Linked DNA regions of Homo sapiens: region 2 is linked to region 1. Evidence: promoter capture Hi-C in 16 types of primary human blood cells and fetal thymus (Javierre and others, 2016). All regions are on one chromosome and are shown on one strand. The core of a region is centred on a gene start or on the middle of the fragment in contact, and the rest is flanking DNA. Distances in the headings are between cores, read along the strand shown. Region 1 holds the start of CCDC110 (coiled-coil domain containing 110). Region 2 holds the start of CENPU (centromere protein U).

Evidence for each region. The method cuts DNA at HindIII sites, captures the fragments that hold promoters and counts their contacts. A CHiCAGO score of 5 or more calls a contact.
Region 2: the fragment with the promoter of CENPU here is called in contact with the fragment with the promoter of CCDC110 in region 1 in 2 of 17 cell types (non-activated CD4 T cells and total CD4 T cells); the score reaches 6.7 in non-activated CD4 T cells.

The regions. Positions count from the first base shown.
Region 1 is chr4:185,467,502-185,474,276 of GRCh38, reverse strand. CCDC110 (coiled-coil domain containing 110) reads left to right here and starts at 2,544. Exons shown (of 7, transcript NM_152775.4): 1 at 2,544-2,603; 2 at 3,228-3,332. The coding sequence starts at 2,594. It overlaps LOC105377590 (a long non-coding RNA gene), which reads right to left and starts at 2,846. Exons shown (of 2, transcript NR_133944.1): 1 at 2,517-2,846; 2 at 2,014-2,162. RefSeq lists a silencer at 2,330-2,959. The HindIII fragment of the contact is 5,122 bases long and covers 1-4,163 here.
Region 2 is chr4:184,728,571-184,735,345 of GRCh38, reverse strand. It overlaps CENPU (centromere protein U), which reads left to right and starts at 1,250. Exons shown (of 13, transcript NM_024629.4): 1 at 1,250-1,330; 2 at 4,378-4,426; 3 at 6,311-6,428. The coding sequence starts at 1,284. RefSeq lists a silencer at 1,244-1,303 and enhancers at 1,674-1,793, 944-1,810. The HindIII fragment of the contact is 4,927 bases long and covers 1-3,824 here.

The sequences.
Region 1 (6,775 bases), core at 1,295-3,794:
TATATTCTACACTAAATGGTATGACTGAGTGCTCCCACAAAAATCCACAAGTAATTTCTATGTAATAACCGATATTAATTTGTCATCATAGTCCACAAATATTACATAGACAAATTAGAGTTATTACACATTATTACATAAATTATCAAATGATTAGATATTAATAATTAGCATTACATAAAATACAATATAGTAATTAATTGTGGAAACTTCAGTAGTATAAAAACAGACTTGCTAAAATGTAGTGGCTTTTTGTCATTCACCCTTTGAAGGAATGCAATTTATTTACAGTAGTAATTTCACAAACATATTGCTGAAAACTTGTGTAGCTCTCAGGAAAAAAATTAACTTTATCAATGAAGCAGCCTCATTGTGTGGGCTGACACCAAGGTTTGCTGTCTCACAGGGAGATCAAGGATGCAGACACACAAAGAGTGAGGTTAAGAGCCGAAATGTAATAGGCGACAAGAAAGGGAATAAGCTCTCCGCTACAGAAAGGGGTCCCCGGGTTGCCAATTCGCTGTGAAATATTTTTTATAGAATTTTATAGATGAGCTAATGGGGAGGCAGTCTGATCTACATAGGGCGTGAAAAACCAGTTAGGACCAGGTGTGCCATCTGCATAGGGCATGAATCTCTGGCAGCCCCCACCCCAATCTTTTACTACGCAGGTGGGTTCTCTGACTGAGCTTTTCCATATCGCCCATCTCTTTCTTACTGTACACGTGCTAACAAAAAAGGGGAGATGGAGATTCCATGGTGGACATGCCTGGCCCCCAGGTAGCCCTTTTCTATCAGCGCAGCTGCTGGCATCCACCCGCACGCTGCCCCCCAACCCCCTGCGCCCTGGTGTGCACGCTTCCAGCTTCCTGATCTATCTTTGCAAGGTTTGCAGGCTTTCAGGCTGCTCTTTGTTAGAAAAAAAAATGATTTCTTGAGCTGTTTTTTGTTAGAAGTTCTGCTGAAGACTCTTTTGCCCTATCTGCCTAAATAATTTCTATCTCCTGAATCATCAATATCAATCAGCAATGCAGACCATAAATTCTCAAAATTATAATTTATTAAAATTGTCTACAATGCCACAAGAAAGTCAAATCTTCTAGAGCCCATTTTTTTCTTTCTTTCTTTCTTTTTTTTTTTTTTTTTTTTGAGACAGAGTGTCGCTCTGTGGCCCAGGCTGGAGTGCAGTTGCACTATGTCGACTCACTGCAGCCTCTGCCTCCTGGGTTCAAGTGATTCTCCTGCCTCAGCCTCCCGAGTAGCTGGGATTACGAATGTACTCCACCATACCTGGCTAATTTTGGTATTTTTAGTAGAGACAAGGTTTCACCATGTTGGTCAGGCTGGTCTCGGACTCCTGACCTCAGGTGATCCACCCGCCTCGGCCTCCCAAAGTGCTGGGATTACAGGTGTGAGCCATCATGCCGGACCTAGAGCCCATTTCTTTTCTTTTTTTTTTTTTTGTTTGTTTTTTTTTGTTTTTTTGAGACGGAGTCTGGCTCTGTTGCCCAGGCTGGAGCACAGTGGCGCCATCTCGGCTCACTGCAACCTCCGCCTCCTGGGTTCAAGCGATTCTCCTGCCTCAGCCTCCTGAGTAGCTGAGATTACAGGCGCGTGCACTAGAGCCCATTTCTATAAGAAACAAATTAGAGGAAGTAAGCACTGAAACTATCATAAGAAGTTTCATTTCAATGAAAGCAAGCCATCATGTATTACTTATTATATATTATATGTTATTATATAGCAAATTATGATATCCTGGTGATTGTGATTTTGAATTTTAATTTTCTATGTGTGATGGTTTACTACAAAATAAATAATATATACTCGTTTAAAACTTTAAAGAGCACCATTTTCTGATGGGCAGGAGGATTAGCTGGGGGCACGCACCCAGTCCTTGGTTAAAGGAGGTCAGGTTTCCCGTGAACGCAACATCAATCCTGCACGTGATACACCAGGTGCGTAAAAATTAACATGCTTAGACAAAGGAAGCCCACCGTCGCTTCCCACAGCTTTCATGAGCATATTTTAATACATGTTTAGGTTAATTCATTATTGAAAAATAGGAGTCTTCTTTTCATTGCAGCAAACAAAAGTCCTTTCACAATATTGGTCATGGGCCGTTCAAATCCCCAAATGCTGAAACTCCTCTGAGGGATGCGCTGAAATGAGAGGACTAAGAATTAAAAAAAAAAAACAACAGCGATGAAGTGGAGATGTGGAAAGGCAAAGGGAAAGCTCTCAGGCGTGTGTCCGTCCCCGGGCGGTCCCTTTCTCCGCACCGCTTTGGTCCGGCGGGTACCGCAGCGAGTCCGAGTGTGAGCAAGCCCGTCCCGGACAGCCGCGCGCGTGTGCGGGGAGGCGCCCAGGTGGGCTGTCCCAGGCCAGGTTCCCAGGGAAGCTCTCGGGGAAGCGTCCGGAGTGAGGAGGGACCCACCGGGACCCCACCAGGGACCCCAGCCGAGCGCGCGCCGCCGAGGGTGGGGGTGGGGCCGGCGCCCCGGCCACCCGGTTACCTGGCGACAGGATGCCCTGCGCGGGGCGGCGGAGCGGGTGCGTGCGGCGGCGGTTGCGAGAGAGATGAGCCGCGGCGATGAGCCCGGGTAAGAGTTGGACGGGGCGGGGCTCCTAGGGGAGCCGCGGGAACGGAGGGCAGCAGAAGGGCATTCAGCAGGCGGCTCCCCGCTCGAAAACCCGGGACATCCCGGGTCCGCCCTTCTGCACTCGCCGCACATCTCCCGCTCGGCCCTAGGGCTGAGCACCCGCTGCGGCCCCCTGCGTCCGCTGTGGCTTACAGGCTGGCTACGTGGTCTGCCGCCGCCGCCCGCCCAGCGCGCCCTCGGGTGGCCGCTTGCGGAAAGCGCCGCGCCCCGCCCCAGGCCCGGCCTGATGCCGTCCCTCCGCCCCATCCCTCCGCCCCGCCCCAGCCTTCAGCCTTGACCCCGCCCCATTCCTCTGCCCCCACAGGTCCCGCCCAGTCTCTCCGCCCCATCCCATCCCTGCGCCCCGCCCCAGCCTTCAAACCCGCCCCCTCCTAATTCCCTCCGCCCCGCCCTCCCCGCCCTCCCCGCCCCCCCGCCCCAGCCTTCAGCCCCGCCCCCTCCTAATTCCCTCCGCCCCGCCCCAGCCGTTAGCCCTGCCCCGCCCCATCCCTCTGCCCCGCCCCCACCTTCAGCCCCGCCACGCCACGACCCGCGACAGAACAGCCCCGGACGGTTCTGTTACAGAAAAGCAGCACCGGGAAGAGGATGAAGTTGACTCCGTTCTCCTTTCAGCGTCCAAGATCCTAAATTCTTCGGAGGGGGTGAAGGAAAGTGGCTGCAGTGACACAGGTAAAATCGCCAGACCGTAAAAGGCTCCTTTAACTATACACAGGCGGCAGCATCTGGCCTGTGCCACCTGCTCACCTGGCGTGCTTCCCACGGCCGTGATGACACGGACAGCAGCCACCACGGCACTCGCGCTTTGTGCCAGTGCTGTTCTAAGCACGTAATGGATCAACTGTTTAATTCTCACAACACTTTTACGAGGTGGGTGCTACCACGATCCCCATTTTGCAGATAAGGAAACGGGCACAGAGAGGTTAACTCCCTAAGGTCACACAGGCAGCGAGGAATGGAGCGGGCATTCAGCAGGGCGGCTCCGGACTGCCTGTCTTCACCACCACGCTACGCTCCGTTGCTTCTCTGAATGCTAAGTAAGAATTGTTGAGTTTTTTGGACACACACTAAAACGATATGCAGTCAGCCCTCGGTATCTGGGAGTTCCGCATCCTTGGATTCAACCAACCACAGATGGAAAATATTCAGGGGGGAAAATTTTTAAAAATAACAGTACCACAATTTTTAAATGCAAATTTTGAACAGTATAACAGCCATTTACATAGCATTTACATTGTATAAGGTATTACAAGTAATCGAGAGATGATTTAAAGTATACAGCAGGATACACATAGAAGCTATGCAAATACTACCCCATTTTGTATTAGGGACTTGGGCATCTGCAGATTTTGCTATCCGCAGAGGCTCTGGAACCAATCCCCTGTGGATATCCAGGGAGGGGTGTATACCTTTTCTAAAGAAAACTACTTTTTATAGTAAATATTTACGGACTACAGGATATTATATGGGGAGGATGTTTGAAATAGCCACATAGCTAAAGCTTTCAAGCACCACATAAATTATGAATAAGATGGGGGTACCCAGCTAGGGGAATCTGAGGACATTGAAGGTGGAGTCCCAGGCGACTGACTACACGCCTCTCAGAGGAGCCTGCTGTGAGGGGACATGCCGGGGAAGGAGCAGAGCACGGGGCAGGAGAAGGGTCTAGACTGATGTGCCATGCCCGGACCCCCAGTTGCCCCTCTGTAGGATATGGGCAATCCTGATGCCAAAGTGCTGAACCACAAGAGGACTGAGGTTGGGACAGGATTTCTGCACCTCCACCATGCAAGATCTTCACAAAAAGCCTTGTCAGGGCCCGGAAAGAAGAGACTAGAGCAGCCACACCTCAGTAGACAGAAGACACCCGGGTGCCCAGGCACTACCAGGATGAGCAACACCCCAGTGGAGGCCAGCAGGACAGGCACTGGCCAGTCCCCTCTCCGCCCTCCTGCCTCCACCCTTGAGATATGCAGGTTTCCCTGGGCAACCAGGAGGGGCAAAGGGGCCCCCTGAACGAAGGAGAAAGAGTCCTCACAGAGAGTTGAGACATTGAGGTAGCTCCGTATTTACCTCAAAGAGAGCATGTAAGGTCAGAAGAAATAGAAGTACCTTAATTTGGCAAGATCACATGTTTTTTGACATGAATGAGGCTTAGGGTTCTGGAGAAAGATGCCAACATTTATAGAAAATAGTTACATGCAAAATAGCACATGTACATGTTTAAGAGTTACAGTCTTTCTTGCCAGAACACAGTGTTTACAGGTCTGGGGTTGACACAGGACAGGTTCTTAATAAACACCAGTTATCTTGAGTCAGGGGCCACCCAGGAATTTCCTGCCTGCAACTATAGGCAAAACTAGGAGGTATGGCTGGCGCCCTTCTCTCTACTCTCCTACTGATGCTTTCATTGTCACCAAGTGATCCATTCCCCGTGTACTGAGAAAATAATGACCTGATTTGCATAACTACTGCCAGGTTACAAAGAGTTATAGAATGTTCCCAAGGTGTCTCTGATTTCAGAACTAGTGGTTAACCTAATTAACCCTTATTGGAATGGGTTTGTGAGAGACTTTTGAATTTGAGGGTGTCCAGGGTGTTGTTCCCAGCACCCTGTTGTACCCGAGCTTTCATTCATTCATTCGTTTGTGGAGCATATTCTTTTGAGCACCTGCTAAGTTTCAAGTGCTGTTCTAGGTGCTGGGGATCCAACAGTGAACAAGACTTGCAAGATTCCCTGCCCACATGGAGCTTACCTTCTAGTGAGGGAACAGACAGACAAAGGCTATTGTGTGTAAGCGGGGAATAAATTCTATGGAGAACATAAGGCTGAGAAGGGGGGGAGGAATATTTGGAGTGGCAGAGGTGGGTGGGAAGTGTGTCATTTTAAACAGGGTGGTAGGAGAAGGGCTCACTCAGCAGGTCACGTCTGAGCCAAGACCAGAAGGAAGTAAAGAAGCAATCTGTGCAGATTTCTAGGGAAAGAGCACCGCAGGCAGAGAGAATGGCAACTGCAAAGACCCTGTGGTGGGAGCGTGGCTGGTGTGATTGAGGAACGGTTGCTCTTGTAAATGGAGCAGAACAAGTAGGGAAGGGTAGGCGGGAGGAACCAGGACAGGGCTTTGTAGTTCCATGGATGAATTTGGGATTTATTCTGAGAAAATTGAGAAGCACTGGAGAATTTTGAGAAGGCTTCTCTCCCCTCCGTCTTGACTAGAAATTTTGAATTTACCAAATTATCATCATATTGCCTCTGCAGTAATGAGTTAGTGTCTCTTGAGCATTCACTATGTGCCGTACACCTCGTACACCTCAGTAAGGGCTTTATCTACAAACTGGACACTCGCCTAGAGTTATCCCCTCACTGCGAGTGTGTGGCAAAGCTAGAATTCAAATCTGGGCGGCAGGCAACCTGTTGCATAGCTCCTTGCATAATGACTGTGACAAAGCCTCATGCAGAGGGTGCCACACCTCACAAAGCTTTGTAAGACAGGGACATCTAGGAATGAACTTGAATTGTCACAGCAGAACTCAGTATTAGAACCTGCGGCCAGGCATGGTGGCTCACGCCTGTAATCCCAGCATTTTGGGAGACCGAGGCAGGAGGATCACCTGAGGTCAGGAGTTTGAGACCAGCCTGGCCAACATGGTGAAACCCCGTCTCTACTAAAAATACAAAAATTAGCCGGGTGTGCTGGCACATGCCTGTAGTCCCAGCTACTCAGGAAGCTGAGGCAGGAGAATCACTTGAACCCGGGAGGCAGAGGTTGCAATGAGAAGAAACTAAGAATTACAAAGCTTGCAGAGAGCCTGACATCTTATATAGAATCGTTACCCTGTTGCATTTTCAGAATGTATTGGTTCCTCTTGGTCTGTTTGCTACAGGTATGCAGTTGGTACTTTTTGTATACATTGAATACAATATTTTTTGCAGGCTCAGAATAAAAATTACCTCAAAAGTCATCCCATTGATAACTACCTTGTTTTTCACTTTTGACAGAAATATGAAGCAGCTGGAAAATTTAAGTTGAATATGAGATGAGTAATATTCTTACATTCCCAATAAACTCTCATCTTGGTGGGTGGGACCATGCCTTCCGCTTTGTTTATGTGCC
Region 2 (6,775 bases), core at 1-2,500, 740 kb after region 1:
AGCAAAACTCCAACTCAAAAAAAAAAAAAAAAAAAAAAAAAGAACTTACTCATGTAACCAAATAGCACCTGCACCCCAATAATTTATGGAAAAATAAAATAAATAAAAAATAAAAGCAATAGCTTTAGTAAGAAAGGGCACTTGCAGCATACCTACCAAATATCATATAAAGTTTAGAAACATACAATAATCAATACATTATTTGGGGCTATATCAAGGTAGAAAACCACAGGAATGATACACATAAAATCAGAAGAGTGGTTATTCTTTGGAGGAGGAGGATACCATTCAGAGGGGTACCCAAGAGTTATATATAAAAATGATCCATATCCCCATGTAGTGCTGGTTACACGGATGTTTGTTTTTATCTTTACATTACACGTTATATTCTTTCATATGCATGAAACGTAATATTTTTGTCGTAGTAAAATATACATAACAAAATTTAGCATTTTAACCGTTTTTAACTTTACAGTATTGTGGCATTAAGTACCTTCACCTTGTGCATCCATCCACCACTATTTCCAGAACGTTTTCATCATCCCAAACTGCTTTTGGTATCATATCCAAGAAATCATACCAAGTCCAATGTTATGAAGTTTTTGCTCTGTTTTCTTCTAAGAGTTTTAATTTTAGCCTTTATAGTTAGGTCTTTGATTCATTTTGCGTTAATTTTTATACGCGGTGTAAGGTAAGGGTTCAATTACATTCTTCTGCATTACACATTTTTAAACACAAACAAAATAAAAGAACAAAAGGAACCCTGTCCATTTACAAATGAAGGTATTGGGATAGCGGTAAAGTAACATGCTAAGCTCAGACAGCTGATAAAGGCAGCAGGGGCTGGAAGCCAAATCCTGTAGGCCTGGAAAGACGACTGCGGCCTCAGCGACAACAGCTGCGAACACGGGTCTCCACCCACCCTCTTACCTGCCCACGACTCAGGGACACTAGCTCCTCCCCTTTCCCCACCCCACAAGGGGCCGTCCCACGTGGCTCCCGGGCTTTCTGGCGCCGGAAAACTGGCGATGCGGGTGGGCGCGAAAGCCCGGAAAACTTTGGCATGTTTTGGACCGTAGGTAACTGGTTGTGCGGCATGGACTCCAGCTCCGTTGCGCTGTAATAACCAGACCCAGTTTTCCCTCACGCTCCAGGCCAGGGAGGAGCCCGGGGGCCGCTCAGGAAGTCCTGCGCACGCGCGCGTGCTCGGCCCGGATTGGCTGTTCGGAGCGGCGAGGGGCTTGGCGGGAGCTTCCAGTCGCTCGAGAGCGGAGAGCGGCACCATGGCCCCGCGGGGGCGGCGGCGGCCGCGGCCTCACAGGTCTGAGGGGTAAGTACTGCCGACCCTCGGGAGCGCGGGGCCGGAGACCAGCTTGAACTGCTTCCTCGCCTGCCGTGGTTTGCGCCTCCCGGCGCTGTTGGTGCTCCACTGTGGAGGTCGCCCGAGTGGCCAATCGCCCGGGTCCCCGGCTTCCTCCTCAGTCTAGTGGGGATAACAGTGATCCCACCTGCACGGGCCTGTCGGGGCCTAACACTGCCTGGCGGGTGGGAGAGACGTCAGCCAGTGTCGTGTCGTTTTGTGGGGAGGGGGAGTGCCGTCCAAAGTAGTGAGTCTCAAAGTGCTAGCTTGAAAGCAAAATATTCAGCAAATACGTATTGCCTGCGGTTTGCCAGACTTTGTTAGTGGAGTTTTATTCTCTGACTGGGAATCAGTTTTCTTATTTTGAAGACCCTGGTGTTTTCTTACTGCAAACCACAGACCGTAAACTGGAGCATAAATCCGGCTGGGGGACCGAGCTGCCGCTTGCGGTTCTCCAGGATGGCTCGAGCGGTTTTTGTTTACCAAAGAAAGCGAGCGTTTGGTCGGTTGCAAAACGCGCTCTAGAATGCTGGTCGCTGATTCGTTGGCGAATGGCCATCCAAGGCCCGGCCTGGATCTGGCGGGAAGGGTCTCGGCTTGCTGCAGACGGTGCACAAAGCCATACGCCAAGACGATCTGAAGAGAACAGGAGTTCCCCCGGGCCTGGGAAGGCTGCCTGGAGGAGGAGGTGCTGGTAGATGCGGGGTTAGGGTGGAAAAGCTGGAGCAGGACACCGCAGGTGGGTGGGGAAACCGAGACCAGACTTCTGTGGCCAGTGGAGGAGAATGAAGACTCCCCCAGTGCAAAAAAGGATTAGAAGAGAATGTCAGCCTTCAATGTCAGCTGAAAAGAGTTTATCTGAAAGGCTAGTGGTTTTTGTTGTCTTTTTTTATTTTTATCTTTTAACATTTTTGGGTTTGAGACTCATGAAATCTGTTCATGCCTCCTCCCAAAACACACTTACGCACATACAACAGAATTTTTTTTTTTTTTTTTTTTTGAGACGGAGTCTCACTCTGTGGCCCAGGCTGGAGTGCAGTGGCGCAATCTCCGCCTCCCAGGTTCAAGCGATTTTCCTGCCTCAGACTCCAGAGGAGCTGGGATTACAGGCGCTCGCCCCCACGTCCAGCTAATTTTTGTATTTTTAGTAAAGACGGGGTTTCACCATGTTGGCCAGGATGGTCTTGATTTCCTCACCTCGTGATCCGCCCTCCTGGGGTTCCCAAAGCGCTGAGATTACAGGCATGAGCCACCGCGCCTGGCCCAGAAATTTTACCTGTGGGTTGTCACAGAGGTTTCTGTCTCTCAGAAGCCCCACCTTGACTCCAGCGTAAGGCAAGGAGGAACCTTGACTTTTTTTCCCCCCCAAGAAAGGACAAGACAGCTCAAAGAGTTTAGGTTAAGAAGTTTATGTGGTCTAGTGTGTAGCTGGGTTTCTGTTACCTGGCTATGTGACCCTTGATAAGTCACTTAAATTTTCTGAATCCCGGAATCATCATCTATAAAATTGCCATAAAACCAATACTTGTCTTACCTGCTTCCTTAGGTTTCATGAATTAAATAAATAAATCGTGAACTTGTTAGAAATGCAGAATCCCAGACCTCACCCCAGAGGGACTGAATCAGACACTCCTGGGGTGGTGCCAAGCAACCTGTTCAACAAGCCCTCTTGAGAATTTTGATGACACTCAAGTCTGGGAACCACCGCTCTGAACAGTTTTCTAACTTTTTTTTTTTAACTGTGATTCACAGTAATGATGTTTTACATCACACTTAGTACACGTGTGCACACATCCACACATAAAACAAAAGGCTTGTGAACATAGTATATCCAGTGCAATGCTTCATTTTATATTTTCCTTTTTTATTGTTTGTTTTTTTAAAAATGCTGGCCTGGCAATCTTAAAAGACATTATAGGACAATTGATGTGATTTGGGTATGGACTGTAGATTAGATTATGGTATCAGTGTTAAATTTCTTGATTTTAGAAATTGTACCATGAATATGCAGTATAATGCCCTCTTAGGAAAGACATATTGTAGTATTTAGGGGTGGAAGTGCACAGTATCTCCAGACACACACACACACACACACACACACAGAGCACATGAGTAAAGGGCATACAGAAGGTCCTTGTGCTATGTTTGCAACTTTTCTGTGAGCTTGAAATTATATCAGATAAAAGGATACTAAAACATTGGTTTAGACTAAGCTGATTTTGCTGTCTACAAATGAGAAAAATATGGCTGCAATCTGCATGGCATATTTTAAAGTCTAATTATGTACTGTATTCTCCTGGAGTATCCCCCCCGTACCCTTGTACGATGCCTGGTTGGTGGAGGATAGTCTGTACATATTCACTGACTGCTGGCACTATTATTAGTAATAATGATATATAATCCTGCCACTGTTATTTCCCGTTTTTATTCTTGTCACCATTGTTACATTTGTTTTCTTGAAGCTTGTTGAAGATATATATACAACTTTATCATTTGAAGCTGTGGTCCAACTGAGAGAGTGTCAAGGGAGGTCGAGGGCAGGCCCTGGATTTGAACTGATGTAAATTTTAATGCAGGCTTGTCTCCCTCCTGGCTCCGTGTTGCTGTGGGCAAGCACACATCTGTAACATGGGATTCACTTCTACCTTATAGGACTGTTAGAATTAAATGAGAAAAGGACGTAGGAGAGCCAGGCACCGGATGGAGCAGGTGTCGGGGCTTAGCGTTAGCCTACCTCCCCTTTGTTCAGCTGTGCAGAGAAAGTCAATCACTGCTGATTGATTAAGGCCTCAGGGAAAAAGTTAACAGCAGGATTCCAACTTTTCCATGTCCCTGAGGGGGAGAGGTATGTTATTTTATACATTGGTGATAGGATTTGACCTATAAAAAATAAATTTGTGGAATATGGGTTCTTGTTTTTTTTTTTGGTAAAAATGCGCGGAAAGGGTCATAACTATGGTGTTTCCTCAGTTATTTTAACTATTTCCTAACTCTTGTGTTTTTTTGCTGTTTAATAGCGCAAGACGTTCAAAGAACACTTTAGAAAGAACACATTCCATGAAAGATGTAAGTTACCTTTTTGTGTTGTGGTTTTCTCAAAATTGACAGTACAAAATAACATTTTTTGGGTACCTCAGTTTTGTAGACTTCACTTGGCAAGTTCAATGTTTATTGTAGTGAAAAAGTGTGTTCATTTTCCTCACACTTTTTCCGGTATAGTGGATAAAATGACTTTTGTTAATGTTTTAGAATTTCCTTTATTTCTGAGCCGAGTTTGGTTTTATTTTCGTTTAGATAATTGACTTCATGTAAAAATTGTACAGTGCTGTAAGCTTTTTTCACTTAAAGCCATTTCTCCTCATTGTACTTTTCAAGAATTGTTTTATGATTTCATGATACTCCACTTAGTTCACATTACAGGTTTACTTTTCTTTAGAGTCTTAGAATAAATGTATGTTAAAGGCATGTGCATTTCTTTAACGTTCTTGATAGCTAATTCCAGTTTTTTTTTCCAGTGGCTTGTGTGATTGACATTGTAATCTCACATTAACAGTGTATGACAGTGCCAGGCACCCCGGAAGGAGTTCCTTCTGCTTGTTCTGCCCTGGGCTTTCTCTGTCCTGCATAGTCCTTAACCCCAGCCTGCAGACGATAGCTCTCTTCCCCTCTGGGAAACCCTGGGATCCCCCTGCAGGGTTTTGCTCAGCGCTCTGCTCCCACCCCGGCATTACTTCACGGGTTCTTTGGGTGGATTTCTCTCAGCTGTCCTGCCTTGCCCCTGCCATTGGTAGCCAAAGTACAGTGTGCCTCGGAGGGATTTCTCTAAGCTCCAGCCTTAGCTGGAAGCCCAGAGTGCCTGGAATGGATTCAGCTTTCCTGTCCTTCCCTCTGCAAGGCAGTCCCTGGTGGAGGCCCCCTATGCCTTGGGAGGGGCTGGAAGACCTGCCAGCTCTCTCCACATTCCACCCCCAAGCACTCCAGGAATGATTCTTTCACTGGGGGCATCTGAATGGTCAAGTTTTTATATGGTTTGCCAATTTTATTTGACCTCCTTTATACCTTCCAGAATTTTCTTATTTTTGTATCTGTTAATAGTACCCTTCCACATTTTCTGGAACTACCATGAAAGTTTTTCTCATTTTATGTATGTTTTCATGTTTCATTAGATTTGGGGTAGCAGACTTCATGGGTGTATCAGTATATTGAACTCTAAACCCTGGTGTCCTTTAGTCAGGAGTTTTTACACATGTGTACCCTTAAAACTGTTTATGAACTTTTGGGTATATGGGCATATTTCCGGAGACAGGACCCATCACTTTCCCTAGGTCAGAGGTTTAGGCAAACTGGCCCATGGGCCAAATCTAGCCTGCCACCTGTTTTTGTATATCCCTGCAAGCTAAGAATGGTTTTTACCTTTTTTAATGGTTGAAATAAAATAAAAAGACTATGTCATAATATGTGAACATGATATGAAATTCAAATTGCAGTGTTCAAAAGTCAAATTGTATTGGAACACAGCCATGCTCATTCTTTTCTGTGTGGTTACTGTCTGCATTCATGTGACAGTGGCTGAGTTAGTAGTCAAAACAGAAACCTTACGGCCTGCAAAGCCTAAAAGAATTTACTTTCTTGTCCTTTATAGAAAAAGTTTGCCAATCCATGCCTTAGGTTATCAAAAAATTCTATGTCCCCAAAAAGTGTTAGCTTGCTTCTTTCTTTTTATTTTAACTGAAACATTGTAATTGTACACATTTGTGGGGTCTGATTTGATCTTGCCATACATGTCTATGTTGTATAATGACCCAATCAGGGTAGGTAGTGAATCCATCACCCCATGCATAAGGATTGCTTCCTTAGGCAGCAGTGATTACAAGAATATTCTTGCTGTATAAATCAACCTATTGTTCTTTGTGAGAGCCAACTCAATGACTCAACTTTATTCACTTTTAGAAAGCTGGTCAAAAGTGCAAGCCTATTGACGTGTTCGACTTTCCTGATAATTCTGATGTCTCAAGCATTGGCAGGCTGGGTGAAAATGAGAAAGATGAAGAAACTTATGAGACCTTTGGTTAGTACTTTAAATCTTTATCCTAACATAACTCTAAAGCAACAACATTTAGGCCAGATATAATAAAAAATAGAAGTATCTTCAAATATAAAAATTAGTTGCCTGCATGTAAATATAATGTTCTCTGGGGAGTACTTGATAATTTGAATTAATTTTCCTCACTTACGGGTACATTGAAACTAAGAACATTATCAAAGCGGCACTCGTCTAGTAGTATTCATTAACAATCTGGTCACATGAGGACGCTTACTATAGTACTCTGTAATAAGGGGAACATAGCATACATTTCTCACTTCACTCTACCATTTGATAGAGCCATTAATTTAGGGAGGAGAAGAGTATGGGTA